2 separate regions of the Homo sapiens genome follow, and region 1 is linked to region 2. The links are contacts of gene promoters, found by promoter capture Hi-C in blood cells and fetal thymus (Javierre and others, 2016). All regions are on one chromosome and are shown on one strand. The core of a region is centred on a gene start or on the middle of the fragment in contact, and the rest is flanking DNA. Distances in the headings are between cores, read along the strand shown.

Region 1 (7,070 bases), core at 4,215-6,714, 350 kb after region 2:
GACAGAATTTGAATGGTGAACCAACAGTGACTACAGAAATGGAGGACAGCTATAAGAAACATTTCAGGGAATAATAATTGTACTTTGTGAGCCTAATATTATTTCATTCCTTGACTGTATCAGTAACAGTACTAATTTCAGATTGAATAATGTGGGTGGATCTAGTAAAGCAATAGACTTCTTCTTTCTCTTTTTTTTTTTTTTTTTTTTTTTTAGTTGGAGTCTTGTTCTGTTGCCCAGGCTGGAGTAGAGTGGTGTCATCTTGGCCGACTGCAACCTCCACCTCCCAGGTTCAAGTGATTATCGTGCCTCAGCCTCCCGAGTTGCTGGGATTACAGGCGCATGCCCACCAGGCCTGGCTAATGTTTTTGTATTTTTAGTAGAGACGAGGTTTCACCATGTTGGCCAGGCTGGTCTTGAACTCCTGACCTTAAGTGATCTGCCCACCTTGGCTTCCCAACAGGCTGGGATTACAGGCATGAGCCACAGCGTTGGCCTAGCAATAGACTTCTGTAAATGTTTCTAGCAACATTTTGGAAGTTGGAGAGAAGACAGTCACTAGCTTTGTCTGCAGACTTGGCTGCTTAACTGTCCTTGGCGCCTTAACTGTCCTTGGCTCTCTGAGCTCATAAATTCAGCCTAGATTTTGTGCTTTTCATTCACATAGGCCCTTCTAAGGCCTCCAGCTTTTTGATGAGAAAAGATTGACTAATACCTAGAAAAACAACAAAGGTGTTAGGTTTCATGATCCTGGTATCTGACAGTCTGTAGAACAATTGGGACTTGTATTTCCACACTGATTCCTGGAAAAGGCAAAATGGCTTTCCCAGCCTAAAAACTGGGAGACTGCACTTCTCTCTTGGAGAAAAGGCCTTCTCATGACTCTCCCACTTTCACATTTCAAAAAGATTGCCTTTTTGTTTAGAATTTCCCCCTTATTACAGAAAAAAACAGTAAGGAGAATATAGAGTGAGATGAAATGTGGAGCTGACTCAGAAAAGAAACTGACCTACATTCTAAACTCTTAACCAAGAAAAAATTTGATCATATTAAAATTATGGTAAACAAATGCCATTCCTTATAATGATGAGACATTAAAGGTGAGGAAAACATGAAGCATAATCAATTTACATCTTAAATTAGAGGAACTTCATAGGACAGGTGTGAAAGTGGGGAGAAGCGTGGAGTACTTTGGTCTACTTAGGACAAATGTAGAAAAAAGTAATTAGTAGAAAAATTCCATCTGCCAGCATGGCATCTGGATTAGCAAGGAAGGATCCAAACCTCATTTCTAACTGGTGGGAAGAGGTAATATAAATTGGTTCTAATTTCTTTCCTTCCTCTTTCTCCATTTTAATCTCAACACCTTTAGGTCATTTTGTGCAAATTAGGCAAGAAAGCACATTCCCTGCTTTCATGTTATAAAAGAAAAATTGAAAGAGAATGCCACCTGGATTACATGGTAGTCACTGAGTATCCTACCAGGTGGCCTGAAAATTGTGGTGTAACCTGCAAAACGTCCAGTGATATTTCAGTAGAGGTTGATAGGACTTTTACTTTAAATACTTGGTTTTCTAGACAATAACTCAACAGGGGATTCTCGGTGTTGAAATTGAGCCTGGATAAGTGAAATTCGCACAATAAAACTCCCGTTTTGTGTATTTGACGTTTGTAACATAAAATACTTAGTAGCAGATAATATTGGAAATATCATAAGGCCACAATGTATCTTTTGCATAAATTAAGAAGCATTTATGAAAGGCTTTAGGTTAAAGCTAACTGAACATTTCAAAACTAGGGATAAACGAGCGTCAGTTCTATTTAGGAAGTGTGAATATCTCTGAAAAGAGTCCTTAGGGTGTGGGTCAGGAAGAACCTAGTGGAGTGTGAGTCAGGAAGAACCTAGTGGGGTTCCAAGTGGACGAACCAGCAAGGAGCTCACTTGGAGCTGGTGTGCTTGGTTACGGCTTTGGTGCTCTCGGACACAGCATGCGTGACAGGCGAACAGCCGTCTGGATCTCCCTGGAGGTGATGGTCGAACGCTTGTTGTAACGCGCCAGGCGGGAAGCCTCGCCCGCAATACGCTCGAAGATGGCATAACGAAGGTGTTCAAGATCCCCATTGCTTTGGACGAGATGCCGGTGTTGGTGGACCTGCTTCAGCACCTTGTACAAGTACACGGAGCAGCTCTCCTTGCGGCTGCGCTTTCGCTTCTTGCCTTAGTAATAGTCTTCTTGGAACCCTTTTTCGGGGCTGTGGCCGACTTGGTGGGGTCAGGCGTGTTGTAGTTTAACTGCAGAAAGGGTACAAGGAATAGGAAAAAGCGGCCGGGCGCGGCGGCGCACGCCTGTAATTCCAGTACTTTGGGAGGCGGAGGCGGGCGGATCACTTGAGGTCAGGAGTTCGAGAGCAGCCTGAACAACATGGCGAAACCATGACTCTTCAAACAAATGTAAAAAATTAGCTGGGCGCGTGATGCACTCCTGTAACCCCAGCTACTGGGGAGGCTCAGGGAGGAGGATCGCTTCGGCCAGGAAGGCGGAGGTTGCGGTGAGCCACGATCGCGCCACTGCTCTCCAACCTGGGCGGCAAAGCCAGACCCTGTCTCAAGGGAAAAAAAAAAAAAAAAAAAAAAAAAAAGTCGCCGGGCGCTGTGGCTCACGCCTTTAATCCCAGCATTTTGGGAGGTTGAGGCAGGTGGCTCACCTGAGCTCAGGGGTTTGAGACCAGGATGACCAATATGGTGAAACCCTGTCTCTACTAAAAAATACAAAAATTAGCCGGGCTATGGTGGCTGACGCTTGTAATCTCAGCTACTCAGGAGGCCGAGGCAGGAGAATCACTTGAACCCAGGAGCGGACGTTGCAGCGACCGGAGATCGTACCACCGCACTCCAGCCCGGGCGAGAGGGAGACCCTGTCTTAAAAAAACAAAAAAAGAAGAAGAAGAAAAAGCTGTGTGTTGTAACGTCCTGTTCACGAATTCTTATGCAAATGAGGTGATTAATAAAATAGTGTGTAGGACTGGTGGCGATTCTAGATGACGTCATATACACGTTTGTCCAATCCAAAGAAGCATGTTTCATAACAGCGATTCCATTGGTTGAAATAAAACTGTAATTTGAGCCAATGGCACAGCTTTATTTTCGCGCCCAGTATTGACTATAAGTAGTGGAGCTCTGGTGAACTTCTCTCGGCTGTTCTCAGTTCCTCCATTTATCGTTTCTTCGTCATGTCGGGACGCGGCAAGCAGGGAGGCAAAGCTCGCGCCAAAGCCAAGACCCGCTCTTCTCGTGCCGGTCTCCAGTTCCCCGTGGGCCGAGTGCACCGACTGCTCCGCAAGGGCAACTATGCTGAGCGGGTCGGGGCCGGCGCGCCGGTGTACCTGGCGGCGGTGCTGGAGTACCTGACTGCCGAGATCCTGGAGCTGGCGGGCAACGCCGCCCGCGACAACAAGAAGACCCGCATTATCCCGCGCCACTTGCAGCTGGCCATCCGCAACGACGAGGAGCTCAACAAGCTGCTGGGCAAAGTAACCATCGCTCAGGGTGGTGTCCTGCCCAACATCCAGGCTGTGCTACTGCCCAAGAAGACCGAGAGTCACCACAAGGCCAAAGGCAAATAATGTCTCCATAGAATCACTTTCCAATACAACGGCTCTTTTCAGAGCCACCTACTATTTCTGCGGGAGAGCTGGGCCACTGGTTAAACATTTGGAACGTTTGTTATGAAAAGATAAAGCATTTTTCATCTAGAGCTTAGGAATGACTTTTAGGAAAAACCTTACAGGATTCAGGTGACATGTTTAAGTCAGAATGTGAACTAGTTATTTAATGTAGGGCTTACAAGAATGTTCGCTGTGTTTATTCATCTCGTGTTATATGAACTAGAACCAATAAAAAAAAATCCAGAGCCAGGCTCAGTGGCTCACGCCTGTAATCCCAGCACTTTTGGAAGCTGAGGCGGGAAGATCGCTGGAGCTCATGAATTCGAGATCTGCCTGGGCATCATAGCGGATACAAAAATTAGCCGACCGGGGTGGTGCACGCCTTTAGTCCTAGCACTTCACAGAGGCTGAAGTGGGACGATCCCTTGAGCCGGGGAGGCTGAGGCTGTAGTGAGCCGAGACCACGCCACTGCACGCCAGCCTGGGTGACAGCGAGAACCTGACTTGAGGAAAAAAAAATAATCCAGTACAGAATGACACGGTCATATCAAATTGGCATGTAATAGAGACCCCATCTTGAAACTTGCTACTATATTGTCTTGTGCGTTGATAGCATATTATATTAATGCCGAACACATTAGTGACGCCGAAGTAGCTGGTGCCTAAATGGCTTAAACGCGGAAAAACCACATACAGATGATGGAACAAAAACTGGCCAATCAGATTATAGAGCGGGCTTTTTAAAATATAAGAAGCTTCTTTGTAGCTAGGCGTCTGACAAAAAGCTTGACACCAACTTAACAAAAACCAACGGCTGGAATTCATACTCTAATAACAGACTGCATGGGTAAACTACGTGGGGAGTCCAACCAACACCCTGGACTCTTGCTTGCCTTGCGTTACTCGATTAGGGTTGAGGGAGAACTGCCCGAGATTTTTCGAATGCAAGGAATCTTGCTGCCTGATCTAACATGTTGTGCACAGCCATTTTTTAGAGGTCTCTGGGTGGCTCTGAAAAGAGCCTTTGGGGCTTTGTTGCGGTTTTCACACGCCAGCTTCCTACTTCTTTTTGGCAGCCGCCTTCTTGGCCTTTGCAGCTTTAGGTTTTGCTGCTTTGGGCTTAGCGGCTTTGGGCTTTGCCGCCTTCGGCTTAACTGCCTTGGGCTTGGCAGGACTCTTGGTTGCCTTTTTCGGTTTGGCAGCGGCCTTGGCCTTCTTAGGGCTCTTCGCCACCTTTTTGACGCCAGCCGCCGCGGGCTTCTTCGCCTTCTTCGGAGTCTTCTTCACTGCCTTTTTCGCCCCTGCAGCCTTCTTGGCCTTCTTAGGCGTGGCCCCCGCGGGCTTCTTAGCTTTAGCGGCGCCTGCCTTCTTGGCTTTGGGCTTGGCTTCCCCGGAGGCCGCCTTCTTGTTGAGTTTAAAGGAGCCAGAAGCACCAGTGCCCTTGGTCTGCACCAGGGTGCCCTTGCTCACCAAGCTCTTGAGGCCCAGCTTAATGCGGCTGTTATTCTTCTCCACGTCGTAGCCACCGGCCGCTAAGGCCTTCTTAAGGGCTGCCAAAGAAAGGCCATTGCGCTCCTTAGAAGCAGCCACAGCCTTGGTGATCAGCTCTGAGACTGGGGGCCCCGTCGCTTTGCGCTTAGCAGCGCCGGCGCCGGCAGCCTTCTTAGTTGCCTTCTTCTTAGCCGGGGATTTCTCCACCGGCGCTGGGGTGGCTGTCTCGGCAGGAGCGGTTTCCGACATGGTGGCAAGAAACTGCTAGAAGAGAATAAGCTCGAAATCTAAAGAGCAGGTTTTGCGTTGCTGCTATGCTCGGGCCCCGGGCTTATATAAGCCGGCGCTGCCCTGTGATTGGTGGAGCGTCCAATCCACCGCCCTCTGGCCGCCGCCGCTCGCGGTTGGACTCCCAAATTGTGTTTGTTAGTCCTCAAAATTTGATTAAATGCTTAAAACAATGGTACAGAATTTGGCACTTTGAAGCTCCAAAGGAGGAAAACAGCCTCCAGGTTCACATACTTGTTTGTGTTTTCAAGAATCTTGTGCAATTGATGAAAGATATTTTAAAAAATCCCTTCAGCTTTTCATAAGAATCCATTGGGCTGAGGGCATCATGTTAGTTAGTAGCGTGTCGCGATAAATTTCTACTAAGTATCCAGTGAAAGTTATTTTTAAAAATTTGCCCATGAGTTCATGCTTTGATTTTTGCAAGAGAAAAGACACTGGGTTCCTTGGTTTGGGCATGAAGTTTGTTTCTAACTGTAGCAAGTAACACAGGCACAGGACAGCTGGTTGCCTACAGCCCCAACTTAACCACATAGACTTGACTTTACAAACTGGTTCTGTGTCCTAGGAGTTTCCATGTGCTAATGTCTTTACAGAATGGGATTTTGCAGCTTGGAAGAGTTCCACAGTCAGAGTGACTTCTTCTGCATTGCAGCACCAGTAATACAAATCGCTTTGACTTAAGGATCTAACTACTCAGATTCACATTCAAACTTAAATGTGTTATGTTTTCTAATTAGAGTGTTTTCTCTTTTTAGTTCCTGGGCAAATCCATTAAAAAAGGGGAAGAAAAATAATATAGATAATTCAGTTTAGAGAAAACTCAAACTTGTGGAAAATTATTCAAGAGCTCCCAGTGATCCTCAAATGCACAAACTGTTTAGGTGGCCCAGGACACTGTCAGGTTTTCGAAATGTTCTCACTGCTCCCCCTGAATCTCCACCCACATTTAACAAGCTGCACCATCAGGAATACTCTCTTCTATGAGCAGCCAGGATACATCAATATGGGTATTTTTGTGTGTTTTAGCGCTAATATTTTAGAAGAATATCTGGCTATTGACTGTGAAAAGGTTGGATTGGATATTGAGCGACTTCACATTATAGAGGTTCAGAGGAACTCAGGAAAACATAGGCAAATACACTGAGGTTGAAATAAATGAAGTTTACAATTTATGGGAGGTGGAGGGGATTGGACAGGATGCCTGGATGATAAAAATGATCAAATGATGATTTGGATTCCTAATGAAATCAACAGTCACTTATTTCTCATTCTTGAAATGCTGTGCAAGAAAATTTAAAGTAGCCAATGCACTTCATCTTCTAAGAACTCCTGGAGAAGTTGGCAGACTATGGCCAAATCTGGACAATGGCTTTTTTCTGTATGGCCCTCAAGCTAAGAAGTGTCTTTATGTTTTAAAAGTATTGTTAAAAAAAAAAAAAACAAAAACAAAGGCTGGGCACGGTGGTTCATGTCTGTAATCTCAGCACTTGGGGACACTGGGATAGGTGGGTTGCTTGAGCTCAGGAGTTGGAGACCAGCTTGGGCAACTTGGTAAAACCCCATCTTTAATAAAAATACAAAACATTTTGCTGGATGTGGTGGCACATGCCTGTAGTCTCAGC
Region 2 (6,656 bases), core at 3,354-5,853:
CCCATCCACCAGACCCGGGTCCCCTGGCCCTCTGAGCCCTACACAGCCCGCGAGTCAGCCCTGACACGTCCAGTCCCCTGCTTCTTTGTGTTTTGATAGAAAACAAAACAAAACAAAACAAAACAAAAACATCTTGCCAATCCATTTGGCTTATAAAATAATGTATTGTGCACATTTATTATAATGATAATAATTACATAAGAAGTAATTTGGGAGAATGGGGTCCAAAATCAGCTATAGTATAGTCATGAGGGTTGCACCTGGAAGAGACTGCCTCTCTGATGTTCAAAGTTTGAGAATTAGTCCTTAATGAATAAATGTATATAATGCAATTTTGAAGTTTATACTTTCCTTGTTTGAACAGGATAGAATCAGCACTAAACAGAAACCAGTACAATTCTCAATAACAAATTATCTCAGTAGAGGTCCAATAACCCTGTGATAAATATGCGCCTGTTCTTCTCCACTGTCTGACCTACTTATGTCTGCATCAAGTATCCCCAAACTGCTCTGTCAGGAATATACACCCGAAGAGCCCTCTGAGAACTGGTTTAACTAGTATTTTGGCTTGTTTTGGGTGCACCTGTGACCTAATTTACAAGACCAAGATTAATTAAATGTTCATGCACAATTAAAAGACAATTTTACTTCAGTAGTATGATGCTTAATTTCTGCTTATAGAATTCATTTTTTATTAGTTATAAATTATGCTAGATGACATAGAGAGGAATATCAAATGCAGAGGATTCTTAGCCTGAGATCCATGGACCTCAAGTGTTTCACGAACACCTTGAGATAGTTTTCAAAATGGTATATGTGTGTATCTAGGGGCATCTTTCTGAGAAAGGGATTTCCTAGATTTTATTCAATATGATCTGGAGTCCAGAGCAAAAAAATATTGTACAAATCTTTGCTCTACTAACTTCTTGACATTGGGAATTTGAGGGAGAGGAATTTTCCATCAGCTTTTTGTTTTTTGGGAAATAAATAAAATGACTATGAGCAAACATGAAGACAATTCCCAAACCAATTCCCAAAGACTGGTACCAGTAGCTCCTGGTGCAGAACCAACTTCAGCATGGCAGGGAACAAAGAAATGTTCAGTTATACTGAGGGCAAAAGGACAATGAGAATCTCCTAAGTTCCTCAAAGTCACTTCTGTTGCTCCCTGATGTTTACAGTTCAAAGCAGATACTTGTGCTCCTAAAACAAACAACCTTGAAGCCCTGGCCTGATCTATGGTCTCAGCCTATCCTTCAACTTTTTCTCAGCTCTTCTTTTACTTCCACTATGGTATGGCCACCCAGACAACCAGTCCACAGACTACGCCCTTATCTTGTATCTCACAATATGTGAAAAGGTTTGGGCCAACACCGTCTTCTAAATACCATCTTCAATCCCTGCCTAAACTCAAATATCCAGCTTATTTCAGCTTCTCAGTTTATCTAGGCTGTTAGCTTCCAGTCACCTGCAGTTTTCCCTAACTTTCTCTGTGTGGGTGTTACTTTATTCACTGTTTTTAGCCAATATCTCATCACTACAAACTGAAATCTCCACAGGCAGGGCCAGTGCTTAGTGTCCTGCTCAATTCTGTGTCCACAGCACTAAGGGCAGCAGTGGGTGTGGCACAAAAATTTGTCCTTCCTATTTTCAAGTCCGTATACTCTCAGGTCAGTTGTAGGCTGTGCAAGCTGTACCACTAGGTCTGATATGTGGCTCATTAAGCAAAAACAGGAGAGAATTGTACCAATGCACATTGCAAGCCAGAGTTCTGAATTCATTTTGAAGAAGTAACTTCATTTGGTCACATTTTTGTTCTTATTCCCGTGAGCAATAGTTTCCATTTAATTGGGAAGATATAAAGGAGAGTTCCCATATATCCCCACACTCAGTTTTCCTTATTATTAAAATCTTACATTGGTATGGTACGTTTGTTACAAACAATTAACAAATATGTATACATTATTATTAACTAAAATGAATATGTTAGATTTCCTTCATTTTTACCTAATTTCCTTTCTCTGTTCCAGGATCCTATTCAGAATTCCATGTTATTTTTAGTCATCATGACTCCCTAAGCTCTCTTGGCTGTGGTAGTTCTTAGACTTTCCTTGATTTTGATGATCTTGACAGTTTTGAAGAGTGTTGAGCAGGCATTTTGTAGAATGTCCTTCAACTAGGATTTGTCTGATATTTTTCTCATCATTAGATCGGAGTTAGGGGTTCGAGGGAGCAAGACCGCAGAGGTAAAGTGGAGGGTTTTTGTTTGTTTGTTTGTTTGTTTTGAGACAGGGTCTCCCTCTGTCACGCAGGCTGGAATGCAGTGGCACCATCTCGGCTCTCTGCAACCTCCGCCTCCCGGGTTCAAGCGATTCTCCTGCCTCAGCCTCATGAGCAGCTGGGACTACAGGCATCTGCCACCACGCCTGGCTAATTTTTGTATTTTTAGTGGAGACAGGGTTTCACCATGTTGGCCAGGCTGGTCTCGAACTCCTTGCCTCAAGTGATCCACCTGCCTCGGCCTCCCAAAGTGCTGGGATTACAGGAATAAACCACCATGCTTGACCTAAAGCGCCATTTTTATCACGTTATATCAAGACAATATACTATCAACATGGCTTATCACTGCTGGTGTAATGCTTTTGGGATTTATTCACTGCTTACTTTCCCACCCTTTTTCATACTGTATTCTGTAGAGCAATCACTATGCAGAGCCCACAATGAAGGGGTGGAGTTATCTGGAATTCTGCTCAGGAGATTCCTTGAAAAACTGAGATTTGTTGCACATCAGGGAAGCTGTAGGGATTGGTTTGAAGTCTTCTATTTATTGTTTCTCAAATTGTTTCAGCTTTGACCATTACAGGCATATATTTTTAATTTTTTTTTTCAGAGAGCACAGAACTTGGTACAAGCCCTAGCCCTTAGAAATGCTCATCTTAAATTTGTTACATGGACCTTCAGTTTTTCAAAAGCCTCCAGTGGGCTAGATTTTTATTGAAAATGCTTAGGATCCTCATGCTTCTTGTTCCCGAGGCTCCTGGAAACCACCTTTAGTTATCCCGTTTGGTAAGAGGGTTTCATTCTGTCTTGCTTTCTGGTAGTGAGTGGATCAGAAAGTCATAGGGCTGGGAGAAGATGGACTGGATGAGATATGTACGGATATTCTCTTTGCCACTGTACAGCGGCCATTGCAGCTCCTGCCGCAGAGCCCACGGCCCTACGGGCGGGACCCATTTTAACCTGGTAGTGACAGTGCCGCCTCATTGAAGCAGGAAGGATTTTTGTCCATGACACTAGACGTCTCTAAGCAATAAAGTAATTTTGGCAGATGCCGATACCTCTCATGTGATCTTGTTGGGAAGGTTCAGATCCTATCACCTGAGATTATTTACTCTTAAAGACCCTCTGCCTCCTTCCTCAGCCTTTCTGTTTGACAACATAAGATCGCTTTTATCTCCTGCAATGAACACTCCTAGACAAGTCATGTCCGGGTCTTGGTATCAGTAAATTTTTACTGCTGAATATTTTGGGAGAGGTTCTCAGTTAATCCCATTGAGAAAGACCAAGTTAAAGCTTTATCAGTGAGAAACTAATTACAAAATCCTGCCTTGCAAATATTCGAGCTTTTAACAGTGCTTTACTCTTTGGTATCCACGAGGTGGAGCCTTCCCGGGAAGCAGAAAGCATCTTTTGGTGTCCTGTTTTTTGTTTTTTACCCTCGGCAACGCCACGGGTGCCAGGACTAGTTGACACGCCGCCTCAATTTAAGTCATCCATAATTTATACGTTACGAAATGGAACTTTCAAAAGTGTTCCTAGCGTTAGGAGCAAAGAACGCCGGACAAACGCTCGGGAGGCGGCGAGCCTCGCGGTTCTTCCAACAACGCAATCTGTCAGCGCGGCTAGGTTGGTGCCCTCTCCCCCTGTATCGGGGCAGCCCGGCTTAGGGCCGCAGAACCGAGGCTGGGGAGCCCCGCAGGCTGTTGCTAAGAGTCCAGGGGAGGCACGGACTTACCTTATCTGCCCCTGGAAACAGATTTGCTCTTGGATCTTGCACGAAGAGCCCTGTGAGAAACGAAAAGGGAACTTGTGTGATGGCGGCAGATAACGAACATTAGGGTAGAAACTTAGGTTCTTAAAGGGAAGACAGCTTGAGTTCGGAAATGAAGATATATTCCTTCAGGAAGGCCTGTTAAAAACACGAGCTATTGCGAGGTTCCATGGTGTAATGGTTAGCACTCTGGACTCTGAATCCAGCGATCCGAGTTCAAATCTCGGTGGAACCTGTCGTTTCTTCTTGCTTCCTCACTATTTTTTTCTTTCTAAAATAAATTTCCCTCTTAGATATGATTGGCAGGAATCTCCAGTTCATGTGAACCCAAAGTATGACGCGGACTCTGTACGGGGCCCACTGACTCTCTGCTCTATGTTCAGAGCAGGAGACCCTCATACCTCCTTCATTTTACTACCCTCCTCACCACCACCTAACAGATATTCTAATACCCAAAATAATTCGAGTTGAGTTAAACTTTTTACTTGATTTATTGCTTTATGAAATGCAGTTAATTCACTTCAGAGGACAAAAAGGACTCAACAGATTTGAGGGAAAAGAAATATTCTTGTATGTATCTTTTTCCCAAGAGAATGAGGCTTTATAATGCCTTTTAGGTGCAATCACTAGAATTTATAGGTGTTTCATTTGCCACTGAGAAACAAGGATTAGTGAAAATAAATCTGTACTTTAAATAAAAATTGCTTAAACTCTCTTAGGTATTTGAACACTATTGGATCCTCACATGGTAACTTCAATCACTGTCAACACGGTAAGTAAATATCCAGATACACCTTCTAAGTGCTCTGTTGGTCATTTCTGTGACATTAACCCGCCACACAGAATTGCTGTCAATGCTGAATACGTCCCATAGAATGATAGAGCTTTAAAATTGTATCCTAGGATGCCTCTGTGATTATTTTGTCTTCATAAAACTAAATGTCTCTTGTTGCAAGTTAGTTTATTTTCTGGTAAATGTTTGGATTTGTCACAACTTAAGGAAAGACAAAGAAGTTACTGGGTCTCTGAAGAATTAAGGCCAAAGTGCTTTCCTTAGTTTGATTTTATCTATTAGTATTTATAAAATTGTGTCTTTTAATTGTGGATACAGGGTATCAGGCTATATGTTATAATCTTTTTTCATTTAATCTTATATTGCTAAAATTAATCATCTCTTTTGTTGTATGTAGCTACCATTCATTCATTGATTTCATGTTAGCTGCTGTGTAATATGAACATGCCACAGCTCATTCATTCATCTTTCCATTAATGGGAAACCAAGAGATGTTTATAATATAAATTTGATTTTGAATTATGGCAATTCTTGGGTCACAAAAATTAAAAATTATTTTACTGCAGAGGAAATTCCTGATTCTGCAACCATACATTTAATGGAGAATTTATAACTTTGAATTGTCATTTTCATTTTCCAAATGCTTCCACACATAATGATTATTTGCCCTTTTATATTGTACTACCCATTCCTTCTGATTCCTCATGCATTTTCTAGTGTTAACTGCTAGCAGCATTATGTTCCCCAGCATGGAATGCCTTTGCTAGGCCTTATGCCACCACTGCCTCTAAAAGCTTAAATATCTACCTGCATTTAGCAGATATCTATTCATTACCCTTACCAAGGCAAATGTTGCAAGAAAATAGATGCTTACCTTTAATTTAGATGGACCTAATTTGCTTCTAAACATTTCTTCATAGACTTTATTATACTTGCATAAAGATGCATCATGATAAAATACATAATTTTGGAGTTTTTCTCCCTTGTTTATATACATGTTTCTTCTGAAAGAAGAAATACATCTGATTGGAAAACTTAGGGCACATGCGTGCCATCCTAGCTACATAGAAGCCTAAGAAATTGTTTTAGACAGTTTGGACTACTATAACTATATAATGTTTGTTGACTTAAACAACAAACATTTATTTCTCACAATTCTGAAGGCTGGGAAACCCAAAATCAAGGTTCCAGCTGATTCAATGTCTGGTGAGCCCTCCCTTCTTGATTTGCAGCCTACTGTCCTCTTGCTCTATCCTCACATACTGGGGGGACAGAGAGAGAGAGAGAGAAACAGAGAGAGAGAGGCTTCCACATATGCATTTGAGTCCATTCAGTCCATAGCAGGAATTTAGTTATCACAGAACCATTGAGGATGCACAGTTCATTGGTAGAGAATTCTCCCTAGTCATATGAAGTCTTAGGCATATTAGACCACTATGTTCATCAATATGATTATCTATAATTTCTTTTCTTCCTAAACTTTTCTTTTTCCATCAATTTTCTCTTTCATTATGATTCAGCCACAGAATCTGTTAAAATAGGCCGGGCACAGTGGTTCATGCCTGTAGTTTCCACAGTTTCAGAGGGTGAGGTGGGTGGATCACTTAAGGCCAGGAGTTGGTGACCAGCCTGAGCAAGATGGTGAGTCCCTGTCTCTACAAAACTAATATTTGTTAAATAATCTGTTAAAATATTAGTTAATAATTACTAAATTTTGAGATGTAGAAACAAAATGGAACTAAAATGATGAATAACAATAATACACAAAATGGGATGTTGTAATAAGGATCAAATTATACTGGAGTCATTTAT

Evidence for each region. Contacts are between HindIII fragments. The CHiCAGO score rates a contact against its expected background, and 5 or more counts as called.
Region 1: the fragment with the promoter of H1-5 here is called in contact with a fragment that was not itself captured in region 2 in 1 of 17 cell types (monocytes); the score reaches 5.2 in monocytes.

Annotation. Positions count from the first base shown.
Region 1 is chr6:27,862,124-27,869,193 of GRCh38, forward strand. H1-5 (H1.5 linker histone, cluster member) reads right to left here and starts at 5,465. Exons shown (of 1, transcript NM_005322.3): 1 at 4,669-5,465. The coding sequence starts at 5,406. The coding sequence ends at 4,726. It overlaps H2AC16 (H2A clustered histone 16), which reads left to right and starts at 3,194. Exons shown (of 1, transcript NM_003511.3): 1 at 3,194-3,675. The coding sequence starts at 3,232. The coding sequence ends at 3,624. It also overlaps the pseudogene H2BC16P. RefSeq lists enhancers at 1,975-2,154, 2,815-2,884, 2,945-3,014, 5,285-5,394, 5,655-5,724 and 3 more. The HindIII fragment of the contact is 3,270 bases long and covers 4,450-7,070 here.
Region 2 is chr6:27,515,315-27,521,970 of GRCh38, forward strand. TRQ-CTG1-2 (tRNA-Gln (anticodon CTG) 1-2) reads left to right here and starts at 4,215; the gene lies at 4,215-4,286. RefSeq lists an enhancer at 3,568-3,857 and a silencer at 4,248-4,297. The HindIII fragment of the contact is 2,065 bases long and covers 3,572-5,636 here.